Regions from separate parts of the Homo sapiens genome. Here region 2 is linked to region 1. The links are contacts of gene promoters, found by promoter capture Hi-C in human tissues and cell types (Jung and others, 2019). All regions are on one chromosome and are shown on one strand. The core of a region is centred on a gene start or on the middle of the fragment in contact, and the rest is flanking DNA. Distances in the headings are between cores, read along the strand shown. Region 1 holds the start of CGN (cingulin). Region 2 has its middle 21 kb from the start of SNX27.

Region 1 (6,258 bases), core at 1,676-4,175:
CCCAGGCTGGAGTGCTGTGGCTAGATCTCAGCTCACTGCAAGCTCCGCCTCCTGGGTTCAGGCCATTCTCCTGCCTCAGCCTCCCAAGTAGCTGGGACTACAGGCGCCCACCACCACACCCAGCTAATTTTTTGTATTTTTAGTAGAGACGGGGTTTCACCATGTTAGCGAGGATGGCAAATCCACTTCTTTGATGAAACCTGCAATTTACCTAAAACTTTCTCTATTATCCCATTTCATAAAATAAAACTTCTCTCTTTAACATCTATCAGTGTTATTTCTTCTTTCTGGGTATTATATTTGCTATAAATTCTGTTTTTGCTGTATTTATAAACTGGCCAATTTTGCCATTTCTTTTTTGAAAAAATTTTATTATTATTATTTTTTATAAAGATGGGGTCTCACTGTGTTGCCCAGGCTGGTCTTGAATTCCTGGGTTCAAGCGATCCAACTCCAGGGCTCAAGCTATCCTCCTGTTTTGGCCTCCCAAAGTGCTGGGATTAGAGGCATGAGTCATCACGCCTGGCCCTGTAGCATTTCTTAAGGAGAGGGATCACCTGTCTTCTGAACTCTGGAAAAAGACCAGGGTGTCGCCTTTGTCACTTGTGCCTGGATGTACCTCTCAGACTGAGTGCTTCCTTGAAGAACAGATGACGAAGGCGGTGACTCAGAGGCTCCCACTTATCCTTGTAATTCGTGTTCATGGTGCTGGGTAACCACCCAAATTGGTATTTACTACAAATATACTAAGTATCCTAATTGCTAAGGTGTTATCTAGGGGAGTTTAGGCGCTTCCGCCTTTCCAATATCTGAGTCAATTTAATATCCCACATTAAAAAAAAAAATCTCCTTACAAACACTTGGTGGGGGCGAGCGTGGTGGCTCACTCCTGTAGTCCCAGTACTTTGAGAGGTCGAGGCAGGCGGTTCGCTTGAGTTCAGGAGTTCAAGACCAGCCTGGACAACATGGAAACCCCATCTCTACTAAAAATGCCAAAATTAGCCCGGTGTGGTGGTGGGCGCCTGAAGTTCCAGCCACTCAGGAGGCTGAGGTGGGAGGATCGCTTGAGCTTTGGAGGCTGAGGCTGCAGTAAGCAGAGATTGCACCACTGCACTCCAGCCCGGGTGACAGAGTGAGACTCCGTCTCAATGAAAAAAACAAAACTAAAGCAAAAACAAAAACAAAAAAACCCAAAACAGGCTGGGTGTGGTGGCTCACGCCTGTAATCCTAGCCCTTTGGGAGGCCAAGGTGGGCAGATCACTTAAGGACAGGAGTTCAAGACCAGCCTGGTGAAACCCTGTCTTTATTAAAAAATACAAAATATTAGCCGGAAATCAATTGAATCTGGGAGGCGGAGGTTGCAGTGAGCCGAGATTGCGCCACTGGACTTTAGCCTGGGCGATAGAGCAAGACTCCGTCTTAAAAAAAAAAAACAACAAAAAAAACCCAAACCAAAAACCATCCCATGGGAGTGTCTCTGAACCTATTCTGGTTCAGGAGGCTGCACAATAAAAGAAAAATAAGAAAAAATTTTTTAAAAAAAAGTCTTTTAAAAGCCACCCAGTGTTCAGGAGGTGCGCTCCTGGAAGGACATTTCCTCTTCTGTCCCCACCCCCACTACATGTTTTTTGCTGTTCCTCCCCAGGGAACAGGCCGGTTTGATGGCCCTAATCCTTATATACAGCTTGCTCTGGAATGCAGAGACTTTGCATCCCAGCTGAGGAGCTGGTAAGTGGACTTTACTCTGTAGGACCCACACCTAGCTTTTGAAGGCTTGGGGAGGGGCGGAAACCAGCTCCCGAGAATACACCGGAATCTGTGCTGCATCGAAGATTCCTCTTCTACTCCAATAGATACAGGGTAAATATTTGTTGTAACTAAATGAGAACAAAATCCGGAGCCCAGCAACGTAAACGAAGTCAATCTCTTTTTTACATATCTCAACGGTTAACAGCTAGGATGCCAGCTTTAATGTTGTTTTAACTGCAGCTGGTATGAGCGGTCCTGCAGTTTGCAGAGCCCCTAGTTTTTACTCTTTTCTAGGAACTGGGATCAGCATCCCTACTTTTTGAGAGGCTAACTCTGAGGTAAATTTACAACTGAGTCCCTTTCAGTTTAGAACGAAGGTCATTCCTATTTTGGTAAATTTGCGTCCCCGGTTTCCATTCATTCAGTCAACAAATATTTATTAAGCATGTAGTATGTACCAGTCCCTGTTGTAGGCGTTTGGGGTGAAGCAAGGCACAGAACAAGAGATCCTTGCTCTGGTGAAGCTTATCGTAGGACGGGAGGCAAAATGATGAAAATGATTTTTAAAATTATGTTATTAACTAGAAGGTGATAAATATTACATAGAAAAAGATGTCAGGCTGCAAAATGATTGCGGAGGCCACAAGATAAAAGAGAATCCAAGATCAGGGTTCTGGTTCGGGTCAGGGAAAAGGGAGACGAGCTGAGGTGCAGGAGGCTCTGACGTCGGGGGACAACGGAGATATTTTCTGCAGAAAGTGACGAAAGAGCATTCTGGTTCCTGCAGAGGTAGGTGAAGGACAGAAAGGGCCCTGGCCGGCGATTCCCTTGGAGTAAACGGGAGGCAGGAGGCTGTTTTCTAGCAGAGCCCAGAAGATGCTCTGGCCGACGGCTCCCGGGATCTTGGCCGGCGGTCACTCGCGACCATCCGCGACGCCCCCAAAATGGCCTCCGCGCCCCTCGCCGCCCCGCCCCGACGCTCCGCAGCCCGTGGGTCCACGTGACCTGGCCCGCCCTTCGCGGCTGGAGACCCCGGGTCCCGGTCCCCGCACCGGAGGCCCCGCCCCCTACGGGAAGCGGACCAACCGGAGCGGGGAAAGGCGGGGCGGGCACTGACGGCCCGCGGGGGTGGAGCTCCGCAGCGGAGTAACAGGTTGGTGGGAGGGAGAGAAAGGAGGGAGCTCCGAGGACGAGGGGGAGGGCCGGAGCTGCGCGTGCTGCTTTGCCCGAGCCCGAGCCCGAGCCCGAGCCCGAGCCCGAGCCCGAGCCCGAACGCAAGCCTGGGAGCGCGGAGCCCGGCTAGGGTGAGTGGACCCGGTGCGGGCCAGGGCACCCGAGAGGAAAGCGAGCCTTCAGGGGTACCTTTGAGGGGCAGGCATCGAGGCGGTGTGAGATGCCCCTCTCCAGGGCACCGGTGCCGAGTGGGAGACGGGAGGAGGGGAGATTGGGGCGGGGTGGGGTACTGATTAAGAGCCGACCCCTACCCTGAGGTGCCAGATGCAGGTGGCTAGGAAGGTGCCAGGCGAGGGGCACCTGGGGCGAAGGCTGTTCCCAGCGCATGAAAGCGTTTCAGCGCCAGATGTCTCTGGAGGTCAGACGCCAGCCCTAGGGGCAGAATTTCTCTTGGAGACAGCGGTGGCGCGGGGAAGGAGTTAGTTCCAGCTGAGTCGGGAACTGCTGCTGCCTGAGGTGCAGACTCGCCAGGGGAGGGCATCTGCAGGTGCTGCTCGCCTGAGGGTCTTTCCTGCGTCCTGCGGTCTCAGCTGGCCGTTGTCAGCACCCTGGTGGCTTTGAGATGACTCTGAGGTGTGGGATTTTTTCCCCAGCCCTTCACCTCCGGCCGAAGGCAGTTGCGAATCAGAGACACTGAGGGGCAGATGAGAGGGCACCCTCATCTCTTCACCAGGTGTACAACCATTAGGCTTTCACTTTGTGTCCTTTGCTTTCGTGCCAGGGAGAATCGTTCCTTCTTCCTCTTGAGAGAGAGAGAGAGTACTCCCCAAGAGAGGGATATGAGGAAGCAAAGAGCCCTGCCTGGTCCTGCAAAATATTGATAAATATTAATACTTATTTCTCAGGAGGCCCCTTTCTGGGGGCGGATGTCAAACCCTTTCTCCAAGTACCCACATATTTTTTCTGTGGTTCTAGATGGGGACCATTGGATGAGGTTTGGGAGCCCAACCAATTTCCTTGATGTCTGGAGGAATCCCCATTACTCCCTGAACGCCCTCCAGGCATCCCTGACTCCTGAACTGCGGTGGCTGTCAGAATGGCAGCAGGCACTATTGGGGCAGGAAATAGGCAGGACTCATCAGGAGACCACGAGACTAGGGAAATTACAACTCCAAATCCCCAGGACAGATGAAAGGTGCACCTTGGGGCCCAGACAAGACTGGAGGCAAATTTCTTTGCCTTAGGCAGGTAAAGGAACTAGAGTCAACCTTAGCTTGGCCCCTTTGAAGCCCTGCCTGAGGAAGGTTGTTGTAATTGGGAAATAATTAGCAACCGCTATGTTTGTAGATGGGCTGCCTACACATGCCTATGCATCTCTTCTTTCATCCTGGATGTTTGGGAGTCTGGGGGCTGGCTCTGGGGGACTGCTAATCCAGAGATTTGCCCGACTCTAAGAGGATTCTGGCTTCCTAGAACCCTTCCTGTGTTTCCCAGGCTGGCCTGCATGCCATTCCCCTTGTGGGAGGTGATGGGGGTGTAGGGCTCTTCTCTTTGTGCCAGGGAGGGGCGGACTGAGGACCAGGGAGGTGGCCAAAGCAAGTGTGGGATCAGGAATGCAACTTTGGGAACCTCAAAGGGAGGGGTGGAGGGAGACAAAGTCTCCCTGTCACATACTGGCCTGTCACCAGGTTCCTGTTCATCTGCTCCTCCTGCCTGTTCCCTCCCTGCCCTCTGTCCTCTCCTTCAGAGCTTTGGCTTTGCCATCAAGGCTGGAGAGCCCCTGCCTGTGGTCTTGCCCCTCTGCCTCCTCCGTGGTGTGGAATTTCTCTGGTCTGCTTTACAAGCTGCCAGTGTAGTTTCCCCGGCCCTCCCCTTCCCCTTGCCTCTCAAACCAGTCCAGCCAGTTTGCAGGGGCCCAGTTCCTCATTGTGTTTTTTTCCCTACTGGCCAAGCAGCTGTAGCCTGGCTCTCAGGTTTCTGCTCTTTCAGCGGACCTGGGCAGGAGTCCACTTGGGGGATTCTTTTTGGATCCACGGGGAACCTTCTTATCTCTAACTATGAGAAAAAGGGTGCCAAATCATCAAGGTCACTGAGCTGTCCTTTTCTATTTCGACCATTTGCTTTCCTTGTTTCCTCTGAGGGGATTCTAATCTCTATACCTCAAGTTCTCCCGTTTTCTAAATCTGCCAATTATTTAGCATCAAGCATATTGCCTGGCCCTATGTGAATCAGTCCTTCCTCCACACACCCGAAACCACCCCACCCCCACTTCCTGCCAGAAGTCCAGATACCCTGTCACTCCTAGTTGGAAACCAGATGCATATGGCTGGGCCAGAGGTGATGGAATTGGGGCAGGGCAGGCTAATGAGTAACTCAGGGAGAAGTGGCTGTCTGGTACAGGTGTAGAGTGTTCTCCCACTCCTTGCAGGCAGGAAAGGCAGAAGCAGACAGATGCACCTGAATCAACTTGTGGTCTGGTCTCTTCCTGGAGTACAGTTGGTGAGGAGAGCCCTGGACATGTGATAGGGGAGAGAAAAGTAGGGTCAGGCATTGGTGAGGGCGCAGGCCCTGGACTCCATGTTGCCTGGCCCTTGATCACTGTTTACCTGCCTGTCTCTGGGGCTTACGCAAGGCCTCAGAGCTGCCCTGCTGCCTTGGTCCCGCCCCACTGTCCTCTGTAACCAAAGGCGGGTAGGTTTCGGGTTTTCCATGTTGAATCATTTAGAGCCCTGCTTTCTGACCCACCCCAAAGATCCCTTCAGCCCTCCTGGCCCCTGATCCACATGTCCTTGGACTGAAGGTGATTGAGGTTAGGGAGTTAACCTAACCTGGGACCTGGGGGAGTGTTCAACACTGCCTCTGAATAATTTAGTGCTGTTGCTCAAGGGTCTGTGCCCTCTGCTGGGCCTAGGCTGGGAACTCCTTGACCTGGATCTGGAAGATCAGTAGATGTACTGACAGGGTAGACTGCATCATGAATAAATCATATGGCTTCTGAGAGCTGGCAATCTAGGCACTTCTGGTTCTAAGATCATGACTACATAGGGCAGCAAGTCTGGACCAGGAGGAGGTCCTGTTGCTAAGAGGTCCTGTTACTGAGGCAAAGTAGATTTGTCCTGGGCAAATCTCCCCACTGCTGTGCAAGTGGGCTTTAGTTCAGGATACAGCCTTTAACAAATATTTGTTGACATCTACCACGTGTCCAAACACCTGGGGACACAGTGGTTAGCTGCTAGCCATGGTCTTTGCCCTCCAGGAGCTTATTATCTCGTAGGGGAGACAGACAGGAAATAATTACTCCAATAAATGTATAAATATAAACTGGAGTAAACCTG
Region 2 (6,258 bases), core at 1,367-3,866, 79 kb after region 1:
AGGCTTTGTGTAATTACAGTGAGTTACATTGTAATTCAATAGAGTCTTTTTAGAACTGGATATAATTATTTTAAAATTTCATCTGGAAGAATAAATGGGAAAATGGTAAAGAAAATTTGGAAGGCAGAGCTAATTTGGGAGGATTATTAGCCTTGGCAAATAGCAAAACATTATATAGCTTATACATCAATTTAAGAGACTAGCTAGGCAGAAATAGACTCAATTATACAGTATAAGCATTTAAAAAGGATAAAAGCAGCATTGCAACTTAACGGGGAAAAAGGTATTTGAACAGTTGGTTAAAAATTTGGGAAAAGGCTGGGCGCGGTGGCTCATGCCTGTAATCCCAGCACCCTGGGAGGCCGAGGAGGGTGGATCGCCTGAGGTCAGTTCAAGACTAGCCTGGCCAACATGGCAAAACCCTGTCTCTACTAAAAATACAAAAATCAGCCAGGCATGGTGGTGCACACCTGTAATTCCAGCTACTCAGGAGGCTGAGGCAGGAGAATTGCTCCAACCCAGAAGGCAGACGTGGCAGTGAGCCAAGTTCGTGACACTGCACTCCATCCTGGGCAACAGAGTGAGACTCCATCTCAAAATAATAAGAATAATAATTGGGAAAAAGAAACTAAACAGCATACCTAAATTCTATATAAATTAATTAAATATTACAAATTGTAGAAAAACTACAAGAAAATAAAATTGAATATCAAATCCAAAAGGAAATACATTTAGAATGTTAGTATTGAAGGTCATGAAGGAACATATTTTTAGTTCATAAAAATGTAAAATTTCTGAATTAAACTAAAGGCCCAAAGAATGAAGAATTATTAGTGACAAATGTGGTGAACAGGCAACATTTTTATTGATCAGCTCAAACAAATTGATACAATTACTAAGATTTTACTAGATCAGTGGTCAGGAAAAGAATAGTTCATCAAAAAATTCATATTCTGGCCAGGCGTGGTGGCTCACGCCTGTAATCTCAGCACTTTGGGAGGCCAAGGTGGGTGGATCACCTGAGGTCAGGAGTTCGAGGCCATCCTGGCCAACATGATGAAACCCTGTCTCTACTAAAAATACAAAAATCAGCTGGACGTGGTGGTGCGTGCCTGTAGTCCCAGCTACTCAGGAGGCTGAGGCAGGAGGATCGCTTGAACCCAGGAGGCAGAGGTTGCAGCGAGCTGAGATTGTGGCACTGCACTCCAGCCTGGGTGACCGAGCGAGACTCCATCTCAAAAATAAGTAAATAAATTCGTATTATTTTTAATGCACATATTTATTAAGCTCCTGCTCTCTACAGGCCACCGTGTCTTTGACCAAGGATTCAGGTAGGGACACAGCAGCGAACAATACAACTTTGCTCTTGCCCTCAAACATCTTGTGTTAGGTAGGATAACATGGGCTAAAAGTTGGAGAAAATGTGACTGCAATTGGTTTAAACAACAAAGGACCAGTGTTTCTGGTTGAGGTGACAGAAAAGTTCAGAGACACTTTAGACTCAAGTGAGCCTGCATAGAGAAGCTTGAGGTCTCACCAAATACCCAGCTTCTTTTCATTTCTTCTCTCTGCAGAAGAGGTTTGTTGCAGTGCTTATTATAATCATATAAAATGGGAAACAACATGTGTCCAACAATAGAGAAATGGGTAAGTAAATGAGGATGCAGTCACTCTGGGACATTATGCATTCACTACAAATGGCTGTTATGAAGACTATGTCGCATCAGGGAGCAGTGCTTAGAATGTTAAATGAAAAAAGTAGGACACAAAATTTTATGAACATTTATGACAGCTTTGCAAAACAAAATGTTTCTGGAAAGCCTAGAAATAAATATACCTAAATGCTAATCATGTTAGCGGGGTGGGTTTTGCCTTTGTTTTTGTCTTCTGTTACCTTTATTCTTTTATCTAAATTTTCTAGAGTGTTTACTCTCTCTCCAGCTAGGCTGTGTTCTCACTGCCTTCTGCACATACTGGGATCATTCCTGTCTTTGTACAATTGCTGGTGTTATTTCTTTTACCAGCAATGCCTTCCTCTTTTGACCTATTAATCCATTAAATATTTACTGATAATCGAATCAAGGGTATTGTATAGCTTATGCAAGATAATGTATTTGAAAACACTTTTGTAAAGTGCTTCACAGATGTTACTTGTTATTGTTAGGTGGAAAAAGAGGAGGAGGAGGAAGAGAAAGAACCTATTATTTGCATGATATTGAGCCAGGTACCGTAGGGGATGTCTGGATGGAAAATATAGAACAGGGTTGTAGCCTTCCAGAAGTTTGCACTTGTCAGATGGATGGGAGAAAAACAGCAGCATGTGAAATAGGTGAATAGTCATGGAACATGTGAAATGCTAATATGAGAGAAGGGTGGAGAGGCTGTGGAGCTAGAACTAGGCTCCGAAGGATTTGGGCAGGTAGATCGGCAGGAAGAAAGCTTGAGTTGGAAATGAATGTGGCATATGTGGGGGATGGTGAGCCCAGCTGAAGAGACCTTTGGGAAAGTGGCAAGAGGGCAAGGAGAGACAAATGGAGTGGGCCTTCTGGGAAGAGTCTGGACTCTAATCTTTATTCTTATTTTTACTTTATTTTATTTTATGTTTGAGACGGTGTCTTGCTTTGTCACCCAGGCTGGAGTGCAGTGGTGTAATCTCAGCTCACTGCAACCTCCTACTCCCTGGTTCAAACGATTCTCCTGTCTCAGCCTCCCAAGTAGCTGGGATTACAGGTGCGCACCACCATGCCTGGCTAATTTTTGTATTTTTGTAATTTTAGAGACAGGGCTTCACCACGTTGGCCAGGCTGGTCTTGAACTCTTGACCTCAAGTGATTTGCCTGCCTCGGCCTCCCAAAGTGCTGGGATTACAGGGATGAGCCACCACACCCAGCCTGGACTCTAATCTTTAAAGTGAAAGGTCTCCATTAGAGGTTTTTGTTTGTTTTTGTTTAAACTAGTATGTAAGTTCTGTCAAGGCAGGGATTTTTCTTGCCTGTCTTGTTCAACACTGAATCCCTAGTATCTAGAAGAGTGGCCCCTGGCACATAGTAGATGCACAATAAATATTAGTTGAAGAGAAGTTGGAATGAATGAATCACTAGAGTGACATGATAAAATAAGAAGGCTAATCCCAAAGAGGCAAAGAGCATGGATTGAAAAGGTAAAGGCTGGCAGCAAGGAAACAAGTAATAGATGTTAGGGCACCTCCAGGCATGAAGCAATGAGGGGCTGAACTGCGATAATGGCCACTGGACTGGAAAGAAAGGGACTGGTGGTGTGAGAGTCACTGGGAAAGAACTGATAGGCCTTGGTGACTGACCAACTGGTGTAGGAGAAAAGGAGAGGAAATAATGAAAGATAACATCAAAGAAAGTTCCTCATTCTTCAAGACTTAACCTGTGTTCTCTTTCGTGAAGCCCTCCCAGAATTCTCAAGCCTGTGTTGTGTTCCCTTTCTGCTCAACACAGATCATCTGTATTACCCTGTTGTAGGATGTCATAATGTACTGTCTTCCATTATAATTCGGACTTTGCATGTGTTTGTTTCCCCAGAGAGACTGCAAGCTTTTAAAGGTCAGGGATATCTCTAATTCCACAGTGCCTAGCCCTAATAGTGCCACAAAGTAGATGGTTAATACGTGCTTACTGATTTAGAACAAGTTTATTCAATCAAGCCATCCTGGGCCGCGTCAGGATGGCTTTGAATGTGGCCCAATGCAAATTTGTAAACTTTCTTAAAACATTGAGATTCTTTTGCAGTTTTTTTTAAGCTCATTGTCTATTGTTAGTGTTAGTGTATTTTATGTGTAGTCCAAGATAATTCTTCTTCTTCCATTGTGGCCCAGGGAAGTCAAAAGATTGAACAGCCCTGATTTAGAAGAAACCTGTATTTTTTTCATCATAAAGAGGCATTTCTGTTTGTTTTTTTTTTTAAATTATTGTTTTCATTTTCTTTCTTAGTTGGCCCTAGGGAATGAGGAAGAGACAGATTCTGGGACCAATATCCTCCTTACGGGAGAGTCAAATGCCAGCTATTATCATTGCCATCAGCAATAAATAATCTTATTCATGCATTCATTCACTTGTTCTTGTATTCAGTCATTCAACAATAGGGGAATAGTGTAGCATAGAGTTTAAGGAGTTAGCATGGGCTTTGGATCTTGCTCATAATCTTAGATATGTTACTGGCCATACTAGTTTGGAAAAGTTATTTAAGCTCTCTAAGCCTTAATTTCCTAATCTATAAAACCAAAATAATAATGCCTATCTAATAAGAACATTTACCAAGTGCTTACATGCACTGTCATTTAATCCCCATTTTACAGATGAGGGATTGAGACATAGTAAGTCACTTGTCCAAGGATGCACAGGTAGAAAGTGTCAAACCAGTTCTAGGTCATAGGTGATTCGATTCCAGAGCACTTGTGCTTAGTGCCATGCCTGACAATCTCATGGGTGTGGCAGTGGCCAGCACAAAGCCATATGAGGGGATCCTATGTGGCACGTTTGGCATGTAGCACATGCTAAATATGTTAATAATTGTCAATAAGTATTTTTTGGCCCAGCACAGTGGCTCATGCCTATAATCCCAACATTTTGGGAGGCCGAGGCGGGCATTTTACCTGAGGTCAGGAGTTCAAGACCAGCCTGGCCAACATGGTGAAACCCCATCTCTTCCAAAAATACAAAAATTAGCTGGGTGTGGTGGCATGTGCCTGTAATCCCAGTTACTCAGGAGGCTAAGGCAGGAGAATTGCTTGAACCTGGGAGGCAGAGGTTGCAGTGAACTGAGATCACGCCATCGCACTCCAGCCTGGGCAACAAGAGTGAAACTCCATCTCAAAAACAAATAATAAATAAATAATAACTAAATAAATAATTTTTTTTAGCATTCAATGTCAGAGAAGATATAGGGCATGGCTTTGAGGATGTGAAGAGGAAAAGATACACAGACTCTGCTCTCAAGTTGCCACCAGTCTAGTAGTGCCACCAGACACTGGTGTAAACCAAAAATAAAAATCTAAGCCTCCCCAACTATCTGAATGGACCCGTCTTCTCAGCCAAGGGCATTCCAAAGTTAACCTGAAAAACTAGTTCAGGTCCTGATTAGAAGCAGGAGCTGGACATACCTCATCATAACCCTCATCCCTTTTGGAATTACTGATGGAACAGACTCTTTAAGTCTGATAAGAAACATTTACAATCTATTGTTTCTGAAGCCTGCTACCTGGAGGCTTCATCTGTATGATAGAAGGTTGGTCTCACAATCCCTTATCTTGACTCAGATATTCCTTTCTATTGATTCTAATTCTATTGATTCCTGACATAGCACTCAGGAGATCCTGAGAACATGTGCCCAAGGTGGTCAGGCCACAACTTGGTTTTACACATTTTAGGGAGACATAAGGCATCAATCAGTACATGTAAGGATGTACATCGGTTTAGTAAAGAAAGGTGGGACAACTGGAAGGGGGTTGGGGGAGCTTCCAGGTCATAGGTAGATTCAAAGCTTTTCTGACTGGCAATTGGTTGAAAGAGTTAAGTTACTGTCTAAAGACTTGGAATCAGCTGGGTGCTTACATGTACTGATTGATGCCTTATGTCTCCCTAAAATGTGTAAAACCAAGTTGTGGCCTGACCACTTTGGGCACATGTTCTCAGGATCTCCTGAGTGCTATGTCACAGGCCATTGGTCCCTCATATTTGACTCAGAATAAATCTCTTCAAATATTCTATAGTTTGTCTCTTTTCATTGACACTTGTATGCCAAGAGGCAGACAATCATAAACTACCACTGCTAAAAGAAACCTTAGAAAGCATCCGATCCAACTCCCTCATTTGACAGATGAGTAAACCGAGGCCCAATGGCGGGGGTGGGGGAGTGAATTACTTTAGGTTGAAATTTGGACAAAAATCTAGATCTACACTGGAGTGCAGTGTCCTTGACCTAAGGAAAGTTCAAAAAGCGGCAGAGAGATGGTCCCTATCCGAGGCCTGCGTGCACTTACAAAGTAGCTTCCTGGGGAAGCAGAAGCGGTTTGGGGAGGGGGCGGGCCAGGGGAGTGGCTGACGGGGAGAGCTCAGCCTTTAGCCAGACCCTCCGGGATCCCCTGGGATCACTTGGCTCACTCGAGTACACAACCCTTTTGCATCTTGTGTACTTCTAAATTTCAAATGGTGACTTCCTCTCCCTTCCCTGTCTTTTAATAAGGGTGTGGGGTAGCGGGGAGATTCTATTCCTGTCTACTTCTCTAACTGT

What was found. The method cuts DNA at HindIII sites, captures the fragments that hold promoters and counts their contacts. A contact is called where the count stands out against the background at its distance.
Region 2: a fragment that was not itself captured here is called in contact with the fragment with the promoter of CGN in region 1 in 2 of the 25 tissues and cell types used here (IMR-90 fibroblasts and spleen).

What each region holds. Positions count from the first base shown.
Region 1 is chr1:151,508,462-151,514,719 of GRCh38, forward strand. It overlaps CGN (cingulin), which reads left to right and starts at 2,926. Exons shown (of 21, transcript NM_020770.3): 1 at 2,926-3,054. RefSeq lists enhancers at 2,003-2,579, 2,580-3,155, 3,307-3,446, 4,309-4,885, 4,886-5,461 and a silencer at 2,577-2,976. The HindIII fragment of the contact is 12,501 bases long and covers 1-6,258 here.
Region 2 is chr1:151,587,808-151,594,065 of GRCh38, forward strand. No RefSeq gene overlaps it. Among named protein-coding and RNA genes, the nearest start is that of SNX27, 21 kb to the right of the region's middle. The HindIII fragment of the contact is 3,838 bases long and covers 698-4,535 here.